2 separate regions of the Homo sapiens genome follow, and region 2 is linked to region 1. Evidence: promoter capture Hi-C in human tissues and cell types (Jung and others, 2019). All regions are on one chromosome and are shown on one strand. The core of a region is centred on a gene start or on the middle of the fragment in contact, and the rest is flanking DNA. Distances in the headings are between cores, read along the strand shown.

Evidence for each region. Contacts are between HindIII fragments. The study calls those that stand out against the background at their distance.
Region 2: a contact is called between a fragment that was not itself captured here and the fragment with the promoter of CCDC179 in region 1, in 1 of the 25 tissues and cell types used here (mesendoderm cells).

What each region holds. Positions count from the first base shown.
Region 1 is chr11:22,856,070-22,862,478 of GRCh38, forward strand. CCDC179 (coiled-coil domain containing 179) reads right to left here and starts at 4,405. Exons shown (of 4, transcript NM_001195637.2): 1 at 4,308-4,405; 2 at 3,383-3,427; 3 at 1,853-1,957. The coding sequence starts at 4,352. All of the region lies in intron 3 of LINC02718 (long intergenic non-protein coding RNA 2718), which reads left to right. The HindIII fragment of the contact is 9,229 bases long and covers 1-6,409 here.
Region 2 is chr11:23,228,203-23,234,781 of GRCh38, forward strand. No RefSeq gene overlaps it. Among named protein-coding and RNA genes, the nearest start is that of MIR8054, 190 kb to the right of the region's middle. The HindIII fragment of the contact is 3,622 bases long and covers 3,197-6,579 here.

The sequences.
Region 1 (6,409 bases), core at 3,155-5,654:
GGTTTCACTGATTACCAAACATTTAAAAAAGAAACTACTAATTCTTTACAATATCTTGCAGAAAATAGAAGCAGAGGGAATACTTCTTGACTCATTCTGTAAGGTGAGCATTACCCTAATACCAAAACCAGAAAAAGATATTAAAAGACAGGAAAATGACAGACCAATACCTCTCATGAACATAGATGTAAAAATTCTCAACAAAATATTAGCAAATTGATCCAAACATGTGTAAAAATAATTATACACAATCTGAGACTTATCCCAAGAATGTAAGGCTGTTTCAACATCTTAAAATTATTTAATGAAATTCATCACGTCAAAAGGCTAAAGGAGAAAAATCATATGATCATATCAACAATGTATAATAAGAATTTGACAAAATCCAGTACCCATTTATGATAAAAGCTCTCAGTACTAGGTGTAGAGAGGGATGTCTTTCACTTCATAAGGAACATCTCTAAAATACCTAAACCTCACATTATAGTCACTGTCAAGAAACCAGATTTTTTTCAGTTAATATTAGGAAAAAGGCAAAAATGTACCTTCTCACTTCTGTTCAACATCATAATGGAAGACATAGCTAATGCAGTAAGACAAAAAAAGGAAATAAATGTTATACAGTTTGAGAAGAAAGAAATAAATTGTTCTGTGTCTTCGTTCACAGACGACCTGACTAAGTAGAAAATCTCAAAGAATCAACAATAACAATAAAAAACAAACAAAAAACTCTTGGAAGTAATAAACAATTATAGTAAGATTAGAGGATGTAAGTTTAATACAGAAAATTCAATTGATTTCCTTTATGCCAGCAATGAACAATTTGAATGCAAAGTGAAAAACAGCCTCCCATTTATATTAGCAACAAAAAATAAAATACTTAGGCATAAATCCAAGAAAATATGTATAAAATCTGGATGAGGAAAATTATAAAACTCAGGTAAAAAAGATGATCTAAATAAATAGGAGAAATTCTATGTTAATTTATAGGAAGACTCAATATTGTTAAGATATCAGTTATTTCCAAACTGATCCTTTGGATCCAGCACAATCCCAATAAAAATTCTAGCAAGTTACTTTGTAGATTTCAACAAACTGATTCTAAATTTTATATTGAAAGGGAAAAGTTCCAGAAAAGCCAACACAACATTGAGGGAAAAGAACAGAAGAGGACTGACACTACCTGATTTCTAGACTTATTGTAAATCTATAGTTTTCGAGACAGTATGGTATTGATGAAAAACAGGATTCAACGAGACAGAATAGCGAGCTCGGAAATAAACCCACACAAATATATAGTCAATAAATCTTTGATAAGGAAGCAAAGGCAATACAATAGAGAAAAGATAGTCTTTTCAACAAATGGTACTAGAACTTGACATCTACATGAAAATGATAATGATAATAATCTGGACACTGACACCTTTCAGTAACATTAACTCGCTATGGATCATAAACCTAAATGTAACATACACAACTGCAAAACTTCTAGGAGATAATACATAAGAGAACTAATGTGACCTTAAATTTGGCAATAAATTTTCAGATATATAGCCAAAAGATTTAAGTGATTAACCTTATGTAGTCATCTAACATATGGCAAAACAAGAAGTGGAGTCCAGAACAACCTGGTTTCAAAGATAATCCTCTTTTCATTAAACCATATCACCTCCAGGAGATGACAGCAGAGGATATTTAAATAATAGATGAGATAAGACTTTTAAGACTGAAATTAGAAATTTCTCAAAGAGAAAGGGAAAAAGAAAATTTATAGTGAATATTACATGAATTAAAATGATGATATCAGTTGCATTTAATGATCTGTTAATTTCAGTGAAACCTCTATACTTACTAGGAGTCCTGGTTCTGGAATAGGAGAAGGCCTTGAAAACCTTTTATTCAGTCTCCTCTTCTCTTTCTTTAGGTGTTGCATATTCTGAATACGTTTATTTGCAAGCTTTAGAAAAATTAAAATGAAAGAAAAATCATACTTTTTTGTAACATATAAAGGTAACATTCTGATTACATTTTTGGTTTGTGTCAATAAAAAAGGTAAACACCACCACTGCAAACGGTTCACATAACTACATAGAAATAGGGCGAAAAATCTCTTTCATTCAAATGTATGGTTCATAGGTGAAGAAAACCACATTGGAGCATCAGTAGGGTTTTCAAATAAGACTATTCTTGATTCTCATCTTACCACTGCATACACTTAAGTAGATCCAGACTCATGGATTAGTGTGCTTACTTTTGCTTTAAAAATAATGTTCATTAAGGACACCTAGGGAATTTTCTCTATAGAAATATGAAAACAATTATTCACTCCTTTGAAATGTTGCATGACACACATAGCTTTTTATGCCACCATTGTGTGGCGTCTACAAGTAGCAGATACCTAGGAGATCAAACTAGAATGCTTTTAAGATAATGAAATACAGTAATAGAATAGAAAGGATATGAATAACAATAACTTTTTTATCCACTTCCAGTGAAGTATCAATTGGTACAATTGCTTTGAAAACCAACTTTTTAAAAAATCCACTGATAACAGAATATAAACTTGAACAATTGCTTTGAAAACAGTGTGGCACTACTTTCTAACAATAAAAAATTTGCTTTTCCTATGATTCAACCATTACACTCCTGCCTAAATAATCAAATGGCATTCTTGTGCATGGGGCAAGAAGATGTGTACTAGAATGTTTGCAATAGTACTATTCATTTTAGGAAAATGTAAAAATAACACAATGTCCATAAACAAGAGAAAGGATTAATGAACTGTGATATGTTCCATGACAAAATATTGAACAGCAGTGAAAATAAAGAAACTATATACAGCAATGTAGATAAATCTTAGGAAATAATATTGAGAAAAAAGAGTAAATCATACACTAAATTTTGTGTGATCCTATGTTTATAAAGTTCAAAACCAAGCAAAAGCAAATAGTGCACTTATAGAGACACCTATGTAACAAACTATTAAAGAAGAGGAAGAGATTGATGTAGCTAAAATTCAAGATGGAGGTCACCTCTGGGAGAGACCTTAGGAGGTAGAATAGAAAAGCATTCCCTAGCTGGATTCAGAAATACCTAATATTTTAATCCTTAAATGGGAGGCATATTGTAATTTATAAATTATATCTGCCACATCTATTTTTGTATATGTGTCAAATGTTACATTAAAAAATAACATAAGCCATTTAGTTTACCCTAGTTAAGACCCATTCCAATAGTAGTCATTAGATCCCAGAGTCCCAAGAAATATACTGAAGTGTCTACTTAATACAAGTTCTATTATGTTAGGGACCACTACATAAAGGAACAAGTTACAAGCACAATGTTTAAACAACCAGAACCTAGTTCTTTATTTAAACATTACCTGCCGCTCAGTGACCTCTGAAGGATGATGTTGTCTTGGTCCTTCCTATATAATAAACAAAATTAAAACACATTCACACAAAAAAGTCATTAAAAACAGTAAATTAATTATTATAATAGGAAGCCTATGCTACTTTTAAATTTATGTATTATATGAATCATTTCAACTATAAGAAGCAGGTTAAAAAAACAAAAAGAAAAAAGTCAAGTTCAGAATAAAAACATCTAAGATAAAAATTGTGGTGGAAGATGGAGACGATATTATGATAAAAAAGAACCAGCTGTGAACCACCTTACAGATAAAAGGCAGAGTATAGAGATATATTCGGGAGGGAAAGAATGTACGAGAAATCGAAAAATGCATGTTTCTGCTTCTACAGGACTTCAGTGGTGCTATTGAGCAATCTAGTCTTCAATCTGGTTTCAAAGCCTAGGAGTAATTGGTGATGTGATTGAGATCGTATGGTTTTCTGAAGCACAGGGAGCTTGGCTGTTAGTTTTCGAGATTCTCACCACTTCCTCTATTTCTTGATTGTACCTTAAATAACTCCTCCTTCACTCGTTTTGATCCAATCTTTTAACCAGAAGACCCAAGAGCAATCTGTTCCACATCTGGCAATTGAGAACTTTATCCTGCTCCCTACTTCTGTAATTTCCACTCCACCTCCTAGGGCAGGCCAATGGGGCAGTCAACATACAGGTGATGTACCTGACCCCTAAGCACACAGTGGGTGGAGCTTTTTCTTGTTTCAGAGGGGTCCAGCAGTCAGGATGTAGTCTGTCTACATCACCTGGAATTTCCCAACCCCCAGCACCAAACCACATTTACAAGAGTTAGAAGCACCATGGCCAAGGCCACAGTGGCCTGGAGCTCAAGGCACAGGACAGAGTGGCAGAGTTGAGGTTGTAGGCCCCAGCAGACTCACAGGGTTGACTTGGGAAGGCTCGATGTCCCAGCAATACAGGCACATGCCGTGGAGCCTTAGGGCGCCCCCTGACGCCTACTGCCTGTCCTGGACCAAATGATTATGGGGCCCCACACCCACAGCCTTCAAGCCCTGCCCCACCCAGTTCCATCACTATTCTCTTTATTCTTCTCCCTGCTATGGGCCCCACCCTTTCCCCAGTTGTATTCCAGTCCAGTGCAGGGAAGGCAAGGCCTCAAGTTGTCTGCAGTGTCTTTGAGTTATGGAAGTCAGTTTACCATAATTCCTTATATCCTATCCTTCTTCCTCAGAAAATTGCAGAATACCAATTTCCCACCTTTTCTACCCTTCATCTCTCTAGTCTCTCTCTTTATAAAGCCCCTTTCATTTGTTAACATATCTAGCTTAGTCTCCATGTTCTCTTACTTCAGACTGTCTATCTATTGTTAGGGTTCTCAATTCCACCACCTCATTGTTGTTCCTTCACAGCTTCTAGTTGGGCTGACCCAACTGTCTGCCTTCTTCCCATCTATCTATACCAGATGAAGTGAGGAGAAGCTTGAAGATGGCTGGAATACATATTTGTGACCCCAGATCTATTTATTTATTTATTTTCTTTTTTCTTTTTTTTTTTGGCCAAGTCTCTCTGTCGCCCAGGCTGGAGTGCAGTGCTACAATCTTAGCTCACTGCTACCTCCACCTCACTGCTACCTACACCTCGAGGGTTCAAGCAATTCTCCCATCTCAGCCTCCCGAGTAGCTGGGACTGCAGGCGCATGCCACAATGCCTGGCTAATGATTTTGTAGTTTTAGTAGAGACAGGGTTTTACCATATTGGAGGCTGTTCTCAAACTCCTGACCTCAGGTGATCCACCCGTCTTGCCCTCCCAAAGTGCTGAAATTACAGGCGTGAGCCACCAGGCCCGGCCGTGACCCCCAATTTAAACTGGGTCCTCAAAGCTGCTTAAGACTTTTATGTTGCACCAGCTTTTTTTGTGCTCTGCAGTATTCCCTTCAAATTGTCTTCTATTAAAATCTCTGAATCCACCAACACTCAGGCACTTCCAGTAGAAGTGGGACAATCCGTGCTTCACACTCTGATGCTGGTGAACATGTATAGAGCTTACTATGCTCAGCACTGTTACATGAATTTATATGTGTTAACTGATCAAGTCTTTAGACCACTCAAGGTGGGTAAGGGCATGATTATAATCACTGGGAAACAAGGCGCTAGCATGTTAAATTGCTTTCTTGAAGTTACGCTATTAGTAAGAGGGTGAGCTGGAATTTAAATCCAGGGTTGGCCCTTAGATCATGTGCTCCTAATTATGTGCTATGCTACCATTGCTTTTGAAGCCCTCACTGGGGCTACCTCAATACCACCTAAAATCCTATAACCTTGTCAATATCCACATTATCCTTTTCCCTGTAACCCTGTCGAAATGGAAAAAAAAATTGGTATCCCTTCTGTTGCCTCAAATAAATCTATCCATTTGCATTTGCATGCCATTTCCCTCCTAGGAGCCTCCTCAGATCTAGCTCTACAGATTGTTCCTCTCCTTGTTAACTTCTCTATATTGCCTCTTTCCTTTAAACATTTCATTACTGTAAGTTCAAATCTCCCCCTCTCCAAACTAATAAAGGAAACTCCTTAGAACAACAACCAATTGTATCTATTGCCCATCCCCTCTATATAAAGTAAATATTCATGAGAGTGGTCTGTACCTCTGCCTCTTCTTTATGTTCAGTGTAAGATTTGGCTTACTGAAACCTGTTTCAACTCCCACTGTTCCACTGGTGCTTTTCTCAAAATGGTTAATCAAATGATCTTTCTCCTGAATTCAATGGACAGTTTCTATCATATGATTTTTGTATCACGTTAGAAACTGCTGAAAAGTCTTTCTGATGAGTTAGGCTTAGAAAAAGTAAACAGTTTTGCCCAACTGTAATGTTCAAAATCATTATCCATGCTCTTCTTGAAACTCCCCTCTGGGAGCAATAAGTTGTAGAAAAATCATATAAACTTCCCCATTATCACAAACCAGGAATTGACTTGACACACTATAGAAAATGTTTTGAATGCTACTGTCACATATCATGCC
Region 2 (6,579 bases), core at 3,758-6,257, 370 kb after region 1:
ACAGGCTGTAGTGAGCTGTGATCATGCCACTGCACTCCAGCCTGGGTGACAAAATGAGACCCTGTTTCAAATGTGTATATATATATATATGTATGTGTGTGTATTTATATATATTTATATTAGGTGTATGTGTATATATATAGTCATTTATGTATATAATCATATATGTGTGTGTGTGTGTGTATATATGTGTGTGTATATATATATATATATATATATATATATATAGGTGTCATTTAAAAGCTAATGTGACTTCCACTCTAGAATAGCATGCCATTGCCTGATTTGAGAAGAAACAAGTGAAAAGAAAGGAAGTTAACTTCTTAGAAAGATAGGGTGCGAAGATGAAATTTAGTCAGTATATCCAGTACTACAAAGGGGAGAATACACTGGGAAATAAACACAATAACAAAGTAAATTAATGAACATTCTCTAGACTGACATTCTCTGACAGTTTAGTAGGGGATGACTGGTGCTCTTTGACTTTAGGGAAATATTACCTTTAATCCATTCTGAGTCTAGGCTTACCAAGTAATCTTCTCATGGACAATTTGCCTATCCTGGTGTCTAGCATCTGGAAAGGAGTGTCTTGGATCAGGGACTCAAACATCCCCATTATTTAAAAGGCATACTTCACATTACAAATATACACATGTGGAGTCTAGGTTTATCTGTCTCTTTCTTCTGCAATTAGTTTGTGAAAGTCTGTTACCAAGAGATAGAAGGTCTCTGAGGGAACAAGAACATCCCAGCTTTTGAGCAGAAGAGACTCTTTCCAACTTTATTTCACAGCGACCAGCAGATTCTGCTCTTCAGGTTGGCATTTCCCTCTCCACAGCTGAGGTAACTGACTGTTGGGTGGCAAGGATCCTGAGCTAAATGCTACAAGACATCCTACCTGGCACAAGTTTATATATGCCTCTTACGAAGAAGATAACCTTTAATACAGACATGCATTTCAGTAAAACATCACAAGATAACAAGTGAGAGGAATAGCAATAGCATGACAACTACCTGGAAACCCCCAGATGGCTAACAACCCCCTGCCAAAGAGAGAAAATATTACCTAATCTGGACAGCTGCTCTCAGATCAATAAACTATACATGGTGTTCAACAACAAAGTCTGTGGCTGCGTGTGCTGCCATACACATACATCCACCCACTCCACACCCACACACCCACACACATATACTATATATTTCTGTCTATGAAGTGGGTGCCATTGAGACAAATAACATACTGAACAAGAGACCAGAATCCTCACTTAAATTGGATCATTTTGGGAAACTATCACTTGATCCTCAATTTCTTATTCTATAAAGCACAGAGGCAAGAGGAAGAGAAGAATGAAAAATATTTCAAAGTATTATAAAGATCAAATGGGATGATAGATACAAAACACTTAGGACCATGCCTGACAAATCATAAAGTCTCAATATCACTTGTCTATATTCAGTTCAATAAACACTGAACCACAGTCATAAATTCATGGTACCTGAACTCATTCATTTACTTATTTTATGGAGCACCTCTCATGTGCCAGCCACAGCTATGAAGGATGCAAGAATGAATAAATCATGCTTCCTGCCTTTCAGAAGTTCACTTTTTATCAAGGGAGAAAGACATGCAAATCAATAACTGTAACTAGTATGATGGAACTCCAATTGTCCACATATAAACTCAGACAAAAGGCTCAAAGAAAAGCTTCACAGAATGGTGGCTTCTTGGTCCGTTTCTTGGTGCATGATACTTAGTTCAAGCCTTGGAAGAGCAGGAAAAAGCATGTAGTTCCACCTCTTTACACCATTCTCACCTAGTGATTTCCTCTTCTTTGTTGAATGTTGTCTTGAACTTCTGAGAAATGGGGAAGGGACATGAAAATCTAGTAGTTGTTCAGCATTTTAGTGTGCCAGTTGCTTTACGTATAATTTAATATATGACATAGCTAGAATTAAATGACTTTAAATTTTTAAAACAATAGACATCTTGGTAGCTATTGTGTTTATCTCCTTGGCAAATTCCCACTATTCCCATCCTTCAGAGGATAGATTTCCCCTTTTGAAAAATGCTAGTAGACTCCTTTGCTCACACGAATTGACTGTTTGGATGGAAAAGGAGGGGCATTCAAAATCATTTCACTGGCTATGTTTGTTGGAGGTAAGAAGAAAGTTTCCCCCATTTTTTCAATTCCATTAATTCTAAGCCTCAGAACAACTAGGTGCTTTTTCCATGCCCCATGATGGTTTGAAGAGAAAGAGGAAAAGAAAGAAAAGATGGAGAGAAAAGAGCATCCTAATGATATCAAATCCCCTATTCTAGTCCCTGAAATGCTGGAGTCGGCCTAGTATCTTTGCCTCCTGGTCCTGTGAAGCATCAGTATGTTTCTAATAAAACCCTTTATTTAAAAAGTTGACTTTCTAAACACAACATAAGTAGTCCTTACTAATGCAGATTATACAGTCACCGAGAATGGTGAAGATTTGAACTCAGATGTGTCTGGCTCCATAGCCTGTGCTCGTGTTTACAAATGGGAATGCTCTATAGTCATGTGAGCTCTTTGAATTTCTCACCATTTGCTCCTGGACATTCATTTGTCAGTTATTTTGCTTGCAGGACATATACGTGTCTAGAGCATGCTAAAGTAAATGATGGAATTGCTTGCTAACGACATCAGGGAGAGGAAAACAATATTTGGACTAATTGAAAGAAGGCAATGTAAAGCATTACCAACGTGTGTGAGCTCTGAGCCTTGTCTGCCTACTTTCAAATCCTGGCTTAATAGTTATGCAGTTATAGGGCCAAGGGAAAACTTCCCTTTGCCTTCTGAAGGTTTGATAAAAAATCAATACTCAAAGGGCAGATTTATAGCAGAAAAGTCATACAAATGTATTAGCATGCATAGAGGGAAACTCACAGAGGATTTCCCCACCACGCAATGGAGCATAGATGGTATATACCCTTCTTCTTAGGGGAAAGGGATATGGGGAAGTCTGCATAAGTTTAGGGGGATAGTAAATAATTTTTAGGGAAATTCAGTGGGCTTGAATTAGATAAGATGGAAATTTATAACTTGTTTTGTAGAAGTGTTGTGCCCTTGAACAAACCCTAATCCAAACTTATGAGACAAGTTCAAGTCTTTGCTGAGCTTTATTCCAAAGTTATTGATATAAGCCCTCAATGAAGTAATGAAATTATAAGGAAGACATTGTGGAATTAACTAAAAAATAGCAAACTTTTCAAAGAGCAGACCCTATGGAAGGATCTTTTTTTCCTGCAATATGAGCTCAGTTAATGAAAACTCTGGGAAGAGATCAGAGGTACATGTTGTCTTCTTTTGCAGGTCTAGACTTTAGGCAGATGAGGAAACCTCAGAGAACAACTTCTTCCTGTGCTTTGGGATAGACAGAAGATTGAGAGATAGAAAAAAGGAGGGGAAGTCAGGGAGACCTTGAGGCTTCTTAAGTTCAGTATGTTATAGTGCCATATTTTGAGGCATTGGTTTCTGAGCCTCAAGACAGTCTTTCTCAAATTTTTCTCATTTGTACAATGAGGGAAAGGATCACCCATCTCATAGGATTGCTGTGAAGATTAAATGAGTTAGTGCTTTTAAAGCACTCTAGTTACAGCTAGTGGTTTCTTGATAAACACCAGATTTTTGTATGAACATTAAACCAAAATATTTTACCCTAAAATATTTTAAGATGGCTATTCAGAAAGGCTAGAAAAGCAGCAACATCTGAAAAGCTGTCTTTTGTGGAGGGTATTTGCATTTGTAGAGAAAATTTGCGTTGATGTAGTCAGGCTTTCTCTGACATTCCCCGTTGTCAAGATCTAAGAAAGATGAACTGAGTCTGACACCTTTAAAGGTCTGAAAGAAAGATTTACCATCTATTCTCTCTGAGGGCTGCTACCTGTAAGGTTTCATGTACATAGCAAGACCACCTTTGGAAGCCAAGCCTCTTCTTCTCTCTTTCCCATAACTTGTCTTGACACCACAACCCATTTTGTTACCATAACCTGTTTTGCGACCATAACCTGTTTTGTCACAATCTAAACTTACATTTTTTTCTGTAGCCTCAAGATGGTATTGTAGGGGCTGAGAAAAAACTTCCCCTCTGCCCTTTGAAGGTTTGTTGAAAAATCATTGACAAAAGACAGGTTAATAGCAGAAAACCACACAAATTTATTTGATGATAATTTTACAGGAGCTTTCACATTGAAGACCCAAAGATACAGGATAAACTGTCCATTTTTGTGCTAGGTTTAACGAAGTATGGGCAGCCGTATAGAGCTATGACTAGAAAAAAATGGGTATGATCTAATACTGATAGACTGAGTGGGAAAATCCAGCAAGGCCTGTCTGTTCAGATTTTTCTTGGCCTCTCTGTGTAGCATTCCTTTCTTCTGGGTATGGAGAAGACCCTCTCTGTAATGGGGTCCTTATATCCTACAATCAAACAAGGTAGGACAGATAACTTATTTTTCACCAATTAATACACAGAAAGGTTGTTGTGATGTTGAAATTGGAGCAATATTTTTAGGTTTTATGGCTGATTTGTGGTGAAAGGGTTTCTGGTTTCTGTGATCCACCTTGGAGAAGAATGATTCTAATTCTTATGGCTAGTCTCAAGGAGGCAAAAAGCTGAAGACAAAAGGGCATGAGTTCAGAGAGAGTTACTCCTGAAGCTTTCATTCTGGGGCATTATTTTCTGAGAACTTACAGTATAAAAGTGTCAGCTATCTTCTTTTTCTTTACAGTTTGCTATTTTGATAAGTTTCCCATGCACATTAATACATTTGTATGGTCTTTCTTCTGTTAATCTGCTTTTTGTAAGTTAATTTTTCAGTGACCCTTCAGAGGGTGATGGGGAAGTTTTCTTTTGGCCTCTAGTACATGTATTTATTTATCTGGGATAAATGCCCAATAATATAATTGCTGAGTTATATGGGAATTGCATGTTTATTTCATAATAAGCTGTCAAATGGTTTTCCAGGGTTACTCTTTTATTTTTACAGTCCCACCAGCATTGTATGAGTAATCTTGTTTCTCCATATCCTTGCCAATATTTGCCATCTTTTTTTAGTTTTAGCCATTCTGATGGGATATTAGTGATATCTCACTGTGGTTTTAAGTTGCGTTTATCTAGTGGCTAATGACATTGAACATGTTTTGTGTGCTTATTTGTCATCTGTGCATCATCTTTGGCAAAAGTTCTGTTCATATCCTTTGCGTATTTCTTAATTTTTAAAAAAATCGTTCAGTTTCAAGAGTTATTTATATATTTGACATTTTAGTTCTTTGTCAGATATATGGCTTGTAAATGTATTCTACTAGTCTGAAGCTTGTCTCTTCATATTTTTAACATAATCTTCCACAGGGCAAAAGTTTAAACTTTACTAAAGTTCAATTTACCATTTTTTTCTTTCATGAATTATATTTTTGGTTTCAAGTCTAAGAACTCTTTCTTTAGATCTTCCTGAATTGCAATTATTTTGCCCCCTTTTTAAGTTTTATAATTGTATGTTTTACATTTAATTCCATAATTAATTTTAGTTTTTTTGTATAAGGTGTGAAACACTGGCGAGGTTCAATATTTTGTCTATGGTTGTTCAATTGCTTTAGTGCCATTTTTTAAAAGGTCTACCCTTCCTCTATTGAAGTGCTTTTCCATATTTGCCAAAAAACAGTTGACTATATTTGTATGAATATATTTCTAGGTTTTAAAGTGTGTTCTATTTATAATGTGACTATTCCTCTGCCAGTACCAGGCCGTTTTGATTACCAAAGCTATATAATAAGCTGGAATATCTGGTACAGTGATTTCTCTCACTTTATTCTTATTTATAAAGATATTTAAGCTACATTGGGATCTGTGCCTTTCAATATAAATTTTAGAATACTCCAGTCAATATCTACAATATTTGAATGGATTTTGATAGGATTTCAATAAATCTTGACATCAATTTAGAGAGAATTAAAACTTTATTATGTTGAAGCTTTCAATCTATGAGCATGATATGTCTCTTCATTTATTTTAATCTTCTTTAATTTCTTTCACTACATTTTGTAATTTTTAGCATACAGATTCTGTACATAATTTGATAATTATATTCCTAAATATTTAATTTTATTTGCCATGATTTTAAATGGTACTATGTTTTTAATTTCGGTTTTTATATGTTCATTGTTAGTAGAAATGTGAAACACTTGTGACTTTGCTAAACTCACTTATTCATTGTAGGAAAATTTTAAAGCATTCCTTGAGATGTTTTACATAGACAATTGTGTCATCTGCGAATAGAGAAAAAAATTTTCTTCCTTTTATAGTGAGAAACAATGGATACTTCTGTATGTCTTATATCTTTCTTTTGATTTATTGCAGTGCCTAGTACTTTCAGTTCTATGTTGAACTATAGTGATTACAATAGACATTTTTTTCCTGTTCATTTCTTAGTTAGAAACTATTGAGCCTTTCACCATTCCATTTCCCTCTTAATAAGGACACATGTCATTACAATGGGCTTGCATGGGTAATTCCATAATGATTTCCCCATTTTAGATCTTTAGTCACATTTGT